Linked DNA regions of Homo sapiens: region 1 is linked to region 2. Evidence: promoter capture Hi-C in human tissues and cell types (Jung and others, 2019). All regions are on one chromosome and are shown on one strand. The core of a region is centred on a gene start or on the middle of the fragment in contact, and the rest is flanking DNA. Distances in the headings are between cores, read along the strand shown.

Region 1 (5,932 bases), core at 1,147-3,646, 86 kb before region 2:
ACTGCACTAGAAATGAGGTACAGAGGAAGAGAGAGAATGCAGAGGGGGTGCAAGTATTCCTTTAGGTCATTCAGTGACATGAAGAAAAGGGGAAGAGATGACAGTCAACTTAAAGATAGACCAAGAGGACACTGAGGTTTTAACCTTGGTTTCTTTGGTTGTGTTTTTCATAGGACTTTGTGTATGTCTGAAGATAGTATATTGCACTCAGACTTCCTGGGTTGAAAACCCAGCTTTGCCTTGTATAAACATCCAACTTTAGGAATTTTTTAGCCTCTCTGAGCTTTACTTTTTTAGCATACAAATACCTCAAAGAGTTTCTAAAAGACTGAAGCACAGTATCCCAGAATATAGATGGTGGTTCCAGGTAGGTCAATTTCAGGTGTCTTCCTACAAGGGGAAACTCCAAATAGAAGGATAGGTAATAGTGAATAAAACAATAAGCCACAAGATAAGAAAGAGAAAAAAAGGAAAAATGAATGCCTCAAGTCTTACAGGGGAGAAGGAAAACTTCTTTCTCAGAGACAGTTGAGAACAAAAAATGGGTGAACATAAATCTGCAAAGTGAGAGAGGGAGATCAAGGTATATCTCTCCTGATGATACCATAGAAGAATTTTGACTGGCACCTCTACTTCTTAAATGTGACCAGTGACATCCTATGATTAAAACATTGGACCTTCTTTAGGGGCATTTGCCTCGCCTTCACTGCTCAGGTGCACAAACTTATGCTTAGAGTCAAAATACTTTTTAATTTATCACAGGTTATAATACCTCACAACTCACTATTGCATGGTTTGTGGAAGTTATTTAAATTTTCCAAAGTGCAATTTCCTCACCTATTCCACAGGAATAACAAAATCATATACCTTATAATGTGTGAAGTTTATGTGTGACATGTCATGAAAGGCAGAAAATAAATATGAACCATCTTTACTAGCTATATTGCAGTTGCAGTTGGCTTACGTTTATGCCTGTAAACTTAAAAGAGCGTCCAGCACATTGCAGAAGTTAATGTCTACCTATGGAAAAGATAAATAAAACATGATATTAATTTAGCATAAAAGTAGAGCTTTTCTACATTTTCATCAATAAAATCATATTATTATAAGAAAAGGACACAGGATTCAATGAGGATACTGGCATATAAATTAATAACCAATGGTTTGGCACTATGATAGATTTATTTGGCACATATTTTATGAAATACTTTCTGTAAGCCAGGCATTATTCTAGGCCCTGTGGATGCACAGATGAGTAAAAGAGATTAAATTTCTGCCCATATGTCGCTTCCATGTCCTGGGGAGATACAAAATATGTGAGTCAACTAGCAAGTGTATAGCATCTCTTGGTGATAAGTGCTATGAAGAAAAGGCTATATAAACGACCACAGGCCAATAGCATCTCAGGGAAGACCTCTATGCAAAAGCGACATTTGTGCATGATGCTGTCAAGTGACTGCTGGAATCTGGAAGGCATCTCAAGAGAAGATACTTAAATTTTTTAAATTTTTATTTTACTTTAAGTTCTGAATACATGTGCAGAACGTGCAGGTTTGTTACATAGGTATACATGTGCCATGGTGGTTTGCTGCACCCATCAACACAACATCTCAGTTTCAAGCCCTGCATGCATTAGGTATTTGTCCTAATGCTCTCCCTCCCCTTGCTTCCCACCCCCTGACAGGCCCCTGTGTGTGACGTTCCCTTCCCTGTGTCCATGTGTTCTCATTGTTCAGCTCCCAATTATGAGTGAGAACATGCTGTGTTTGGTTTTCTGTTTCTGTGTTAGTTTGCTGAGAATGATGGCTTCCAGCTTCATTCATGTCCCTTAAAAGGACATATCTCATTCTTTTTTATAGCTTTGTAGTATTCCATGGTGTATATGTGCCACATTTTCTTTATCCAGTCAATTCTTGATGGGCATTTGGGTTGGTTCCAAGTCTTTGCTATTGTAAATAGTGTGGAAATAAACCTACATGAGCATGTGTCTTTATAGTAGAATTATTTATAATCCTTTGGGTATATGGGAGAAAATGTTTGCAATCTACCCATCTGACAAAGGTCTAATATCAAGAATCTACAAGGAACTTAAACAAATTTACAAGAAAAAAACCAAACAACCCCATCAAAAGGCATGCAAATTATATAAACAGACGCTTCTCAAAAGAAGACATTTATGCAGCCAACAAACATATGAAAAAAAGCTCATCATCACTGGTCATCAGAGAAATGCAAATCAAAACCACAGTGAGATATCATCTCACACCAGTCATAATGGTGATTATTAAAAAGTCAGGAAACAACAGATGCTGGCGAGGGTGTGGAGAAATAGGAATTTTACACTGTTGGTGGGAGTGTAAATTAGTTCAACCACTGTGGAAGACAGTGTGGCGATTCCTCAAGGATCTAGAACCAGAAATACCATTTGACCCAGAAATCCCTTAAGTTAAATTTTGAAGATGAGTAGGAACTCTTTTTGAGAAGTGAAGAGCAGCGCATGCAAGGTAAAGGAGGAGCTAGTATAAAGGCAGATATTTAACAAGATTATGGATCATTTAGGTAAATACACATATTAATTCAGTCGGTGTTTGCTGAGTGTAATATCATACCTGATGAGCCAACTGCATGGTCCAGGCTCTTCTGTAACTTGCCTTTTAATAAAATTTCCTTCCATATCAGCATATTGAGCGCTTCATTGTTTTCATCATAATAGCAGCATTATGTGTCATTCCAGGGAGAGATATAAGGAGTCATTTTGAACAAATAACTTTTAACAAAGGGACTAAAGAAAGGTGGCAGGTTTTGAGTTTTGGAGATCAGATAGGAATAGATGAAAAGGTGCAGCCATAGTCCAAGTGGCAAATTATGACCATCAGCATTAGATAAAAGGTAAAATGAAATTGAATATATTTATAAAGAATTATATATTTTATGTATCTGTTAAGAAGATAGCACAAAATAGCTACCAATTGGCTATGGAGATGACAGAGGAGACATGTGAAGCTTCTCCATATTCTGACTTGAGTGGCTGTAGCGATCACAAATTGGTTGTCCTTGTCAACCAATTAAACAATAGAATCCACATGGTCTCTACAACCCATAGTAAGGTGCTTGGCAGAAACATAACTAAATATATAACAATATTAAGCCTTAGAATCTCCAAGTTAGTAGCTCAAACCATAGATGGATTCATAGCTGCAACCTAGTCCTCTAAACTTCAGAGGCCAGCAGTGATGTCTGTCAAACATATTTCCAATAAAAGGGAATACTTTTATTCAGATTACCAAATTGCTCAGGTATCCTGAATTTTTATTCTATACACATATCCAATACAATATTGATTCAATTGATCTTTCATAGTAATAGAGCATTTTTAATTGATTAAAGAGTTTTTATATTGATTTGCATTATTAGAGGTTTCTGTGACCAATCTGAGTGCAGTAGTAAGATGTGACCATGATTATTATGTCTGAAAAAACTTTTTCGGTGGAAGAAAGAAATTTTACTTTTTGTATCCATGTTTCAAGAAATTATTCATTCTCCAATTTTATCCTTTAACATTAATCTTGGATCCTAAATTATGCAATCACTATGCACAAGCATGACTAGGTACACATGACACTATTATACCTTCCTCAAAATTAGAATTTATAGTTTTCATCAGGAAATTCCCCCTCTACTTGCATTCATAAGAATTGTATGTTCTGTAGTATATTTTAAATTTTGAAGGTGAGTTCTACAGTATATCTTACTGATATACTGTAATAGAAATCAACAGAAATTCAGTTCTCCCAGCAGAACTACTTACTGACTGCAATTTAGAAATATCTTTCACGTTCCCAGCTTCCAATTCTTTAACAATCTAACCAAGAATAAAAACATCTTTTGCAATATACTTTTAAAAGCCATGACATTCAGGAGCATCACAAATTATATTTGGGAACAAATCAAATTTAACAGCACCTGGACAGTTTAGATCGGAAATCAAAAAGACCTTCAAGTAAGGCCAGCACTTAAACCTAATGAGGATGATTTTTGTTGTTTTTGCTTCCCTTTTTTGGTTTTCTAATTTGAAATAGAAAGTGTGGTGTAGTAAAAAGGTAACAGATATTCTATCTTCAAGGTCATCTTTAGTAGGATATAATGTCTGTCTGGAGAAAATTAGGTTGACTAGTCACATACTGTACATTCTAAATAATTGTTCTCTAAAAGCACCCACCATTTTTTATATGTTTATAAAGGGAAGCTTTATATATGCTTACAACCCTCATAGAGCAAATATAAATATGCAGACTAATTCACACATTGTTAAATTTTAGAGTTGACAAAGGACAATAAAAAAATCAAAGATCGAAATCATACAGAATAGTAACTACAGTTCCTATAATCTACAGGGGCTACGGGCTATTCTCCTGTAGATTTTTTGTTGTTGTTGTTAGAACATAAAATAATTAGCTAAAGCTAAAAATTAGCTTAATTAAATAATTAATTAACTCTTCTATTTTGTCCAAGGAATTTAGAACTTACTAAAACTTAGATTGCAAAACCTCACTAGCAAAATTAAGCATTTGCCAAGGGTAGCTGCTGAAGGGTCTTTAAATCACTGTCTTTCAGTTTAACAGCACTTGGACAGGTATTATATCTGGTTCTCATTTCAGCTTCACAAAAGATCAATTATCCATGCTCATTATCCTGATCTGATTACATTATATATATCAAAGCTTCACTCTGTGCCCCATAAATACATACCATTATTGTGCCAATTAAAAAATAAAATAAAATAAAACATGGAATGTGTTCTAAATGTGATTGGGCCCTTAACTTATGAATTTTTCTCTCTCTTTCTTTTTTGATTTCTCTCTTGCTTCTTTCTTTTCTTCTCTCCATTTTTTTGCTTCCATTGTTTAGTTTCTTAATTTGAAATCAAAACTATAGTATAGACAAAAAGGTAACACTTTTTCTATGGAAATTATTTATAAATAGTGTTCCTCTTTTAGATTTACAAAAGGATAAAAAGATTTTCTAAGATAAATAGTAGGGGTCCAAATTTGAATTTAAGTGGATTCAGACATGCCTAGTCATGTCAGACAAACTGGTGAAACAGGCTTCTCTTGCTACTTTGAAAGTTGACTGAGAAACATTGCAGAGGACGGTTCTATCTGTGTTTACTGTTGGTGTTCCAAGATGCCTGGCCACGGGTGATGAACTTGTAAAACAAGCCTGAAAGGAACGGAAGAATTTTTTGGGTGAGAAAAAATTCCTAGAGAAAAGAGAGCCAGGCTCCTTGAACTTGACTGAGAAATGAAGCCAGAGTTGACAGCCCAGAAGGTTTCTTATCAGTAAAGCCTCCTGTGTATTATTCTCATGTGACTTTGTGTCATCATCCATTCACGACAAGCCATATAGACTGTTAAGAGCCTCTAATAGGGTGCAACAAAAAAATCAGAAAGCATCCCTCCGGCTTATCCCAATTTTTCTTTCTTTTAATTTTTTTTAATTTTTTTACTTTTGTGGGGACATAGTAGGTACATATATTTATGAGTTACATGAGATATTTTGGTAGAGGCTTTCAAAGTGTAATAATCACATCATGGGAAATGGGGTAGCCCTGTCCTCAAGCATTTATCCTTTGTGTTACAAACAATCCAATTTTACTCTCCAAGTTATTTTAAAATGTACAATTGAATTATTATTGACAATAGTCCCCTAGTTGTGCTATCAAATACTAAGTCATTATTTATTCTTTCTATTTTTTTTGCACCTATTAACCAGCCCCAGTCCCCTCCCCAAATACCCTTCCCAGACTTTAGTAACTGTCCTTCTATTCTCTACCTCCATGAGTTCCATTGCTTTGATTTTTAGATCCCACAAATAAGTGAGAACATATGACATTTGTCCTCCTGTGCCTGGTTTATTTCACTTAACACAAGAA
Region 2 (5,758 bases), core at 2,177-4,676:
ATTGTGGAAATTTAGCTTCTTTTCAGATTGAGGCTATTGAATAAAACTACAATGAATATTCTAACATTTTTTTTTGGTGGGCATATGCACTCATTTCTGTTGGATACATTCCCAGGAATGGAATTGGCTGTGTCATAGAAAATATATATGCTAAGCTTTAATAGACATGGCTAGTTTACTTTTCTTTTCTTTTCTTTTTTTTTTTTTTTTTTTGAGACCAAGTCTTGCTCTGTCGCCCAGGCTGGAATTCAGTGGCACAATCTCAGCTCTCTGCAACCTCCGCCTCCCAGGTTCTAAGCGATTCTCCTGCCTCAGCCTCCTGAGTAGCTGGGACTGTAGGTGTGTGTCGTTACACCTGGCTAATTTTGTATTTTTAGTAGAAATGGGGTTTCACCATGTTGGCCAGGCTGGTGTCGAATTCCTGACCTCAGGTGATCCGCCTGCCTTGGCCTCCCAAAGTGCTGGTATCACAGGCGTGAGCCACTGCACCAGGGGCATGGCCAGTTTTCTAAAGGGCTTATACTAATTCATTTTCTCAGTGGTAATGTGCAAAAGTTCCTGATATTCTATATCCCGGCCTACATAAACAAAATGTTGTAAGTCCTTTTAATAATGACTTTCTGGTGAGTGCATATTACTATTTCTCACTCAAAATTTAATGTTCATGTCTCTGATGACAAATGGTACTGAACTCCTTCATACATGCTAATTAGACATTTGGATATCTTTTACGAATTGGCTAATTAAGCCTTTTGCAAATTCTAAAAATTGTTTTGTTAGATTTTTTCTTATTAAATTTATAGCATATCTAAATAAGTAATGTGTGCCAGGTCCACATAACTGTGTGCTAATTGTCTTTTTTCTGTCTGTGGTCTTTTCCATTTTTTAATTGTGCCTTTTGGTAAATAGGAATTTAGAAGTTCTTAATATTTTCTTCATCAGGACTGTATTGGTTATTGCAGGTTCTTAATATTTCTGTATAAATTTTAGATCAACTTGTTAAGTTTATATGGTTTGGCTCTAGGTCCCCACACAAATCTTATCTTGAATTGTAATCCCTGTGTGTCAGGGTAGGGAACTGGTGGGAGGTGATTGGCTCATGGTTGCGGATTTCCCCCATGCTGCTTTCATGATAATGAGTGAGCTCATTAAAATTGTGGCACTTTCATCCTCGCTCTCCCTCTCCTGCCGCCATGTAAGACATGCCTTGCTTCCCCTTTGCCTTCCGCCATGGTTATAAGTTTCCTGAGGCCTCCACAGCCATGTGGAACTGTAAGTCAATTAAATCTCTTTTCTTTTTAAATTACCCAGTCTCATTATTTTGGATCTTTAAGATTTAATGACTGCCCTGTTGGGTTTTAAACTTACATGGTGCCTGTAGCCCTTTTCTTTTGGATGATTTCTCCCTTTTTGGAATGGGAGTATTTACCCATTGCCTATACCCTCATTGTTTCTTGGAAGTAACTAATTTGTTTTTGAGTTTACAGGCTCATAGGTGGAAGAGACTAGCCTTGTCTCAAATGAGATTTTGGACTGAGAACTTTTGAGTTAATGCTGGAATGAGTTAAGATTTTGGGGGATGTTGAGAAGAAATCATTGTATTTTGCAATGTGAGAAGGGCATGAGATTTGGGAGGGGCAGGGGGCAGAATGATATTCTTTGGATTAGTGTCCCCATCCAAATCTCATGTCGAATTGTAATCCCCAGTGCTGGAGGTGGGGCCTGGTGGGAGATGATTAGCTCATGGGGGCAGTTTCTTATGGTTTAACACTGTCCGCCTTGGTGCTGTCATGACAGTGAGTGAGTTCCCATGAGATCTGGTTGTTTAAAAGTGTATAGCACCTCCACTTTCTCTCTCTTCTTCCTGCTCCACCATGATTTCTTGTTTGCCCTTCACCTTCCACCTGCTTCCCCTTCCTCTTCCACCATTATTGTAAGTTTCCTGAGGCCTTCCCTGGAGACCAGTAGATGGCCTGCATCATTCTTCCTGTACAGCCAGAGGAATCATGAGCCAATTAAACTTCTTTTCTTTATAAATTACCCAGTCTCAGGTATTTCTTTATAGAAATGGAAGAATGAACTAATACAGCTAACCTTAAAAAAAAAGTACAGAAGAGTCTTAGTGTTTTATCTTATCTTATTCTCTGAAAGAGAAACTGTTCAGAATTAACTGGTGAAATCATCTAGTCTTAAATTTGCATATTTGTCAAAATGGATTCATGAATTCCACTTCTTTATGACATATAGAAATATTCAGGTTCGTATTTCTTCTTGGGTCCACTTTTTATACATTTAATTTAATCAGATAATATGTATTTGAAGATGGAATAAATTGGCCCGAGCTTTGTTTTATAGCTTTTTTTCTATGCAATTTTTTAAACATACACAAAAGAAGAAAGAATAACTATTACACCAGCCACCATATTCCCATCTCCTAGATAAAGCTATTGTTAATACTTTGATATAATTCCTTCACACTGTTGTTCTCCAATGTTATAATCTATGTGCAAGCTAAAACCTTTTCTTATTATATTGCTCTGAAATTATCAAGATATTCTCCAAGAAATAGTGAATTAAAAGATTAAGCAGAAGTTTATCACCACAGAAGCATCTTTAACCTTTTGGTGTAGAATTCCTGTTTGCCTGGACAAGAAAATATAGATATTGAGAATGTTAAAGATGAGGAGGAGGAAGAAGACAAAGGAGAAGGGGATAAAGAAAAGAAGATAAAGGAGAGGAAAGGGATGGAAAGGGAGGAAGAAGGTTTAAGGGACAGGAAGAATGACGAGGAGGAGGAGGGTGAAGAAATAATCGTGACATATAACGTATTGGTAATTTTTTTATCTATAAGAAGAAAATATCACCATGGTTGATTATATTAATGCATCACAGCACATTTATTGTGATAAAAATTTGAGGCTCAAAACACATTTACCACATGAGAAAAAGTTCATGGTTAGATATCAGATATTGAAAGACAATCTTTCTTAGAGTATAATGGCTCTCCAGCCAATAAAAAAGTGAATATCTGGAGAACATCACTAATCAAATGCCAATATCTAGTTGATCAAGTTTTCTTCACACTATTGTCAAAAGGCAGGTGATCCAAGCAGCTGTTTTGTTATGGAATATGGAATTCCATATGGTTATGGAATAAAGTTTCTTGGAAGAATTGGGAATCTCACAGAAGACTATATTTCAAGTATTTATTCAATAGAATCCAGAAGACCAGTATCCCCCATAGCATGATGGGTGGCAGCAGCTGTATCTGTAGCCTCCATAGCCACAGCCATAGCCCAGTCTGCGGAAGCTGCCACATCCACAGCTATAGCCATAGCCCAGGCCACCGAATCCTCCACAGCCGTAGCCTAGGCCTCCATAGTAGCTGCCGGAGTAGCTCATGTTGTCAGAAGTGGTTAGCTGTTGTAGGTCAGTTTGGTGACTGTGACTGGACAGGAACATTTATATATACTCTGATGCATGTGGAAAGCCACACCTTTAAATGTCATCCCTTAGAACGTGTTACCTGAAAACTATGCCAACTATCTTGTTTTGTAACACCCATCCCACTCTCTTCCTTGTTTATGAAGCTAGTTATTTAGAAATTATACAACATGTTTTATTTTCTGCTTTATTTGGATTTCTAGATAAGTGTTTTGCCTCTAATAAAATGTAGTTGCATTTATATTCACTGTACATGTATGAGTTTCTGAGTTTCAAATGCCATAAACAAATCTCTATAGCTTCAAGTATTCTTCAAATTGCATCTCATGCAATTACATTTATCCTCTGATTGCACTCTTTCCTTTGACAGTCCATGGCTGCTGAGCCTTTTCTAAGCCAAGGATGTTATCTTTATTCTGCCAAGAATTCACAAAAATTGAAACATTATTGTTCTCTGAAATGGCAATCAACTATGATGTATGTCTTTATACAATGTGCTTTTAAAGTCAGCTGGGAACCACATTTTATAGTGGAATGATGATATTTAATTTTTAAAAGAGTCACAAATTAATGTCAAAGGAATTTCTCAAATATTATGCTTCATGTAGAGCCAGCCTGCTTAGTAGATACCATTAAAGTGTGCATAAAGTCCCTGCCAATCCCTTATGAATAGTTTCCTCTCCCCAAATTTAATCTTAGTCTAGATTCTAAATTTCGTACTATCATAGGATCATATAATTATAGAATTAAAGAGACTTGAGTCATCATTTATTTCAGTGTTCTTGTTACTGATGAGAAAAATGGATTCAGAGAGACAAGCAGAGTTACGCAACAGTGAAACTTAGTGGCAGATTAGGACTAAAACCTAAGTACTTTGATTATTGGCCTTAGTTCAGCAGATGCATTTGAAATCAAAGATTGCAGGTTAGGGTATATCTTCTCCCACAATGCCCAGCTGCCTTATATTTTTGTTTCATATCATCAATATAAATAAAAGCAAATGACATGAAACCAGTAAGCATATATGCTCAGCTACTCCTGCTATATATATATATATATGTATATATATATATATACATGTATGTATGTATATATACACTTTAAGTACTGAGGTAAATGTGCAAAACGCGCAGGTTTGTTACATAGGTATACATGTGCCATGGTGGTTTGCTGCACCCATCGACCCATCGTCTATGTTAGGTATTTCTCCTAATGCTGTCCCTCCCCTAGTCCCCCACCCCCTGACAGGCCCTGGTGTGTGATGTTCCCCTCCCTGTGTCCATGTGTTCTCATTGATTAACTCCCACTTATGAGTGAGAACATGTGGTGTTTGCTTTTCTGTTCTTGTGTTAGTTTGCTGAGAATGGTGGTTCCAGCTTCATCCATGTCCCTGCAAAGGACATGAACTCATCCTTTTTTATGGCTGCAGAGTATTCCATGGTATATATGTGCCACATTTTCTTTATCCAGGAACCTCAAAGAATACAGGTTATTTTTGAACTTCATTTATACTGATTAAACTTATTTCCTTTACCAGTTTATTAAAAGTGCTACATAACTAGGTACTTAACATATTTCCATCCTGAGGGAACTTTGCAAACTACAAGTTGAAGGGAATTATTAATGGTAAAGAATTGCTGTATTTGAATTTGCTTCAGTTAAGAAAATGTAGGTTCAATATAATTTTAGGTAATTTTTTAAAAAGACTATTATCTTTAGCACTTGTCACAATCCAGATAAAACCAGATATATTTGCTTGGTAGGGAAAATATTATTATCAGGAATAGAAGATCCCAGAACCTCCAATCTAGGAATTATTTTCTAGGGTCCTCTGCTTTATTTGATTCCTAAAAGTGAAGCTAACACGTATGTGAACTTTGCCTGTCCACGAAGCATCAAGTCATCTGCCTCTTCTCATTCTCAGCTCACACGACCTCCCACTTGGCACTGATAGGACTAGACTGACCCCAGTCACCCTATGACTCACGCTGGTTTCTGTAGAGAAGAAACGCTTTACCGTCTTTTATCTTTCTGAGATACTAGTGCATTCACATTTTAAGATTTTACCAAATATCAATATTAGGAACTTCTCTTATTCTTAAAACAATTCTTTATTTTTTTCTTTAATGAGCATGTATTTTACAAAATATATTCACATAAAAGTCAACATTATTATTCTGTGGTTGTGAAACTACTGTGGAACAATCAAACCATCAAACGGAAACTTCATGAGGTAAGGAAAAAGACCCAATTCCCTCGTCATGTCTTTTAACTCAATAGACTGTGGACATCAGACACTTTAATGAGGTCATGA

Evidence for each region. The method cuts DNA at HindIII sites, captures the fragments that hold promoters and counts their contacts. A contact is called where the count stands out against the background at its distance.
Region 1: a contact is called between a fragment that was not itself captured here and the fragment with the promoter of KRTAP19-7 in region 2, in 3 of the 25 tissues and cell types used here (aorta, hippocampus and liver).

Annotation. Positions count from the first base shown.
Region 1 is chr21:30,473,056-30,478,987 of GRCh38, forward strand. LOC105372772 (a long non-coding RNA gene) reads right to left here and starts at 2,653. Exons shown (of 4, transcript XR_937653.3): 1 at 2,610-2,653; 2 at 965-1,020; 3 at 309-403. The HindIII fragment of the contact is 7,745 bases long and covers 1-5,932 here.
Region 2 is chr21:30,557,888-30,563,645 of GRCh38, forward strand. KRTAP19-7 (keratin associated protein 19-7) reads right to left here and starts at 3,427. Exons shown (of 1, transcript NM_181614.3): 1 at 2,988-3,427. The coding sequence starts at 3,402. The coding sequence ends at 3,211. The HindIII fragment of the contact is 12,696 bases long and covers 1-5,758 here.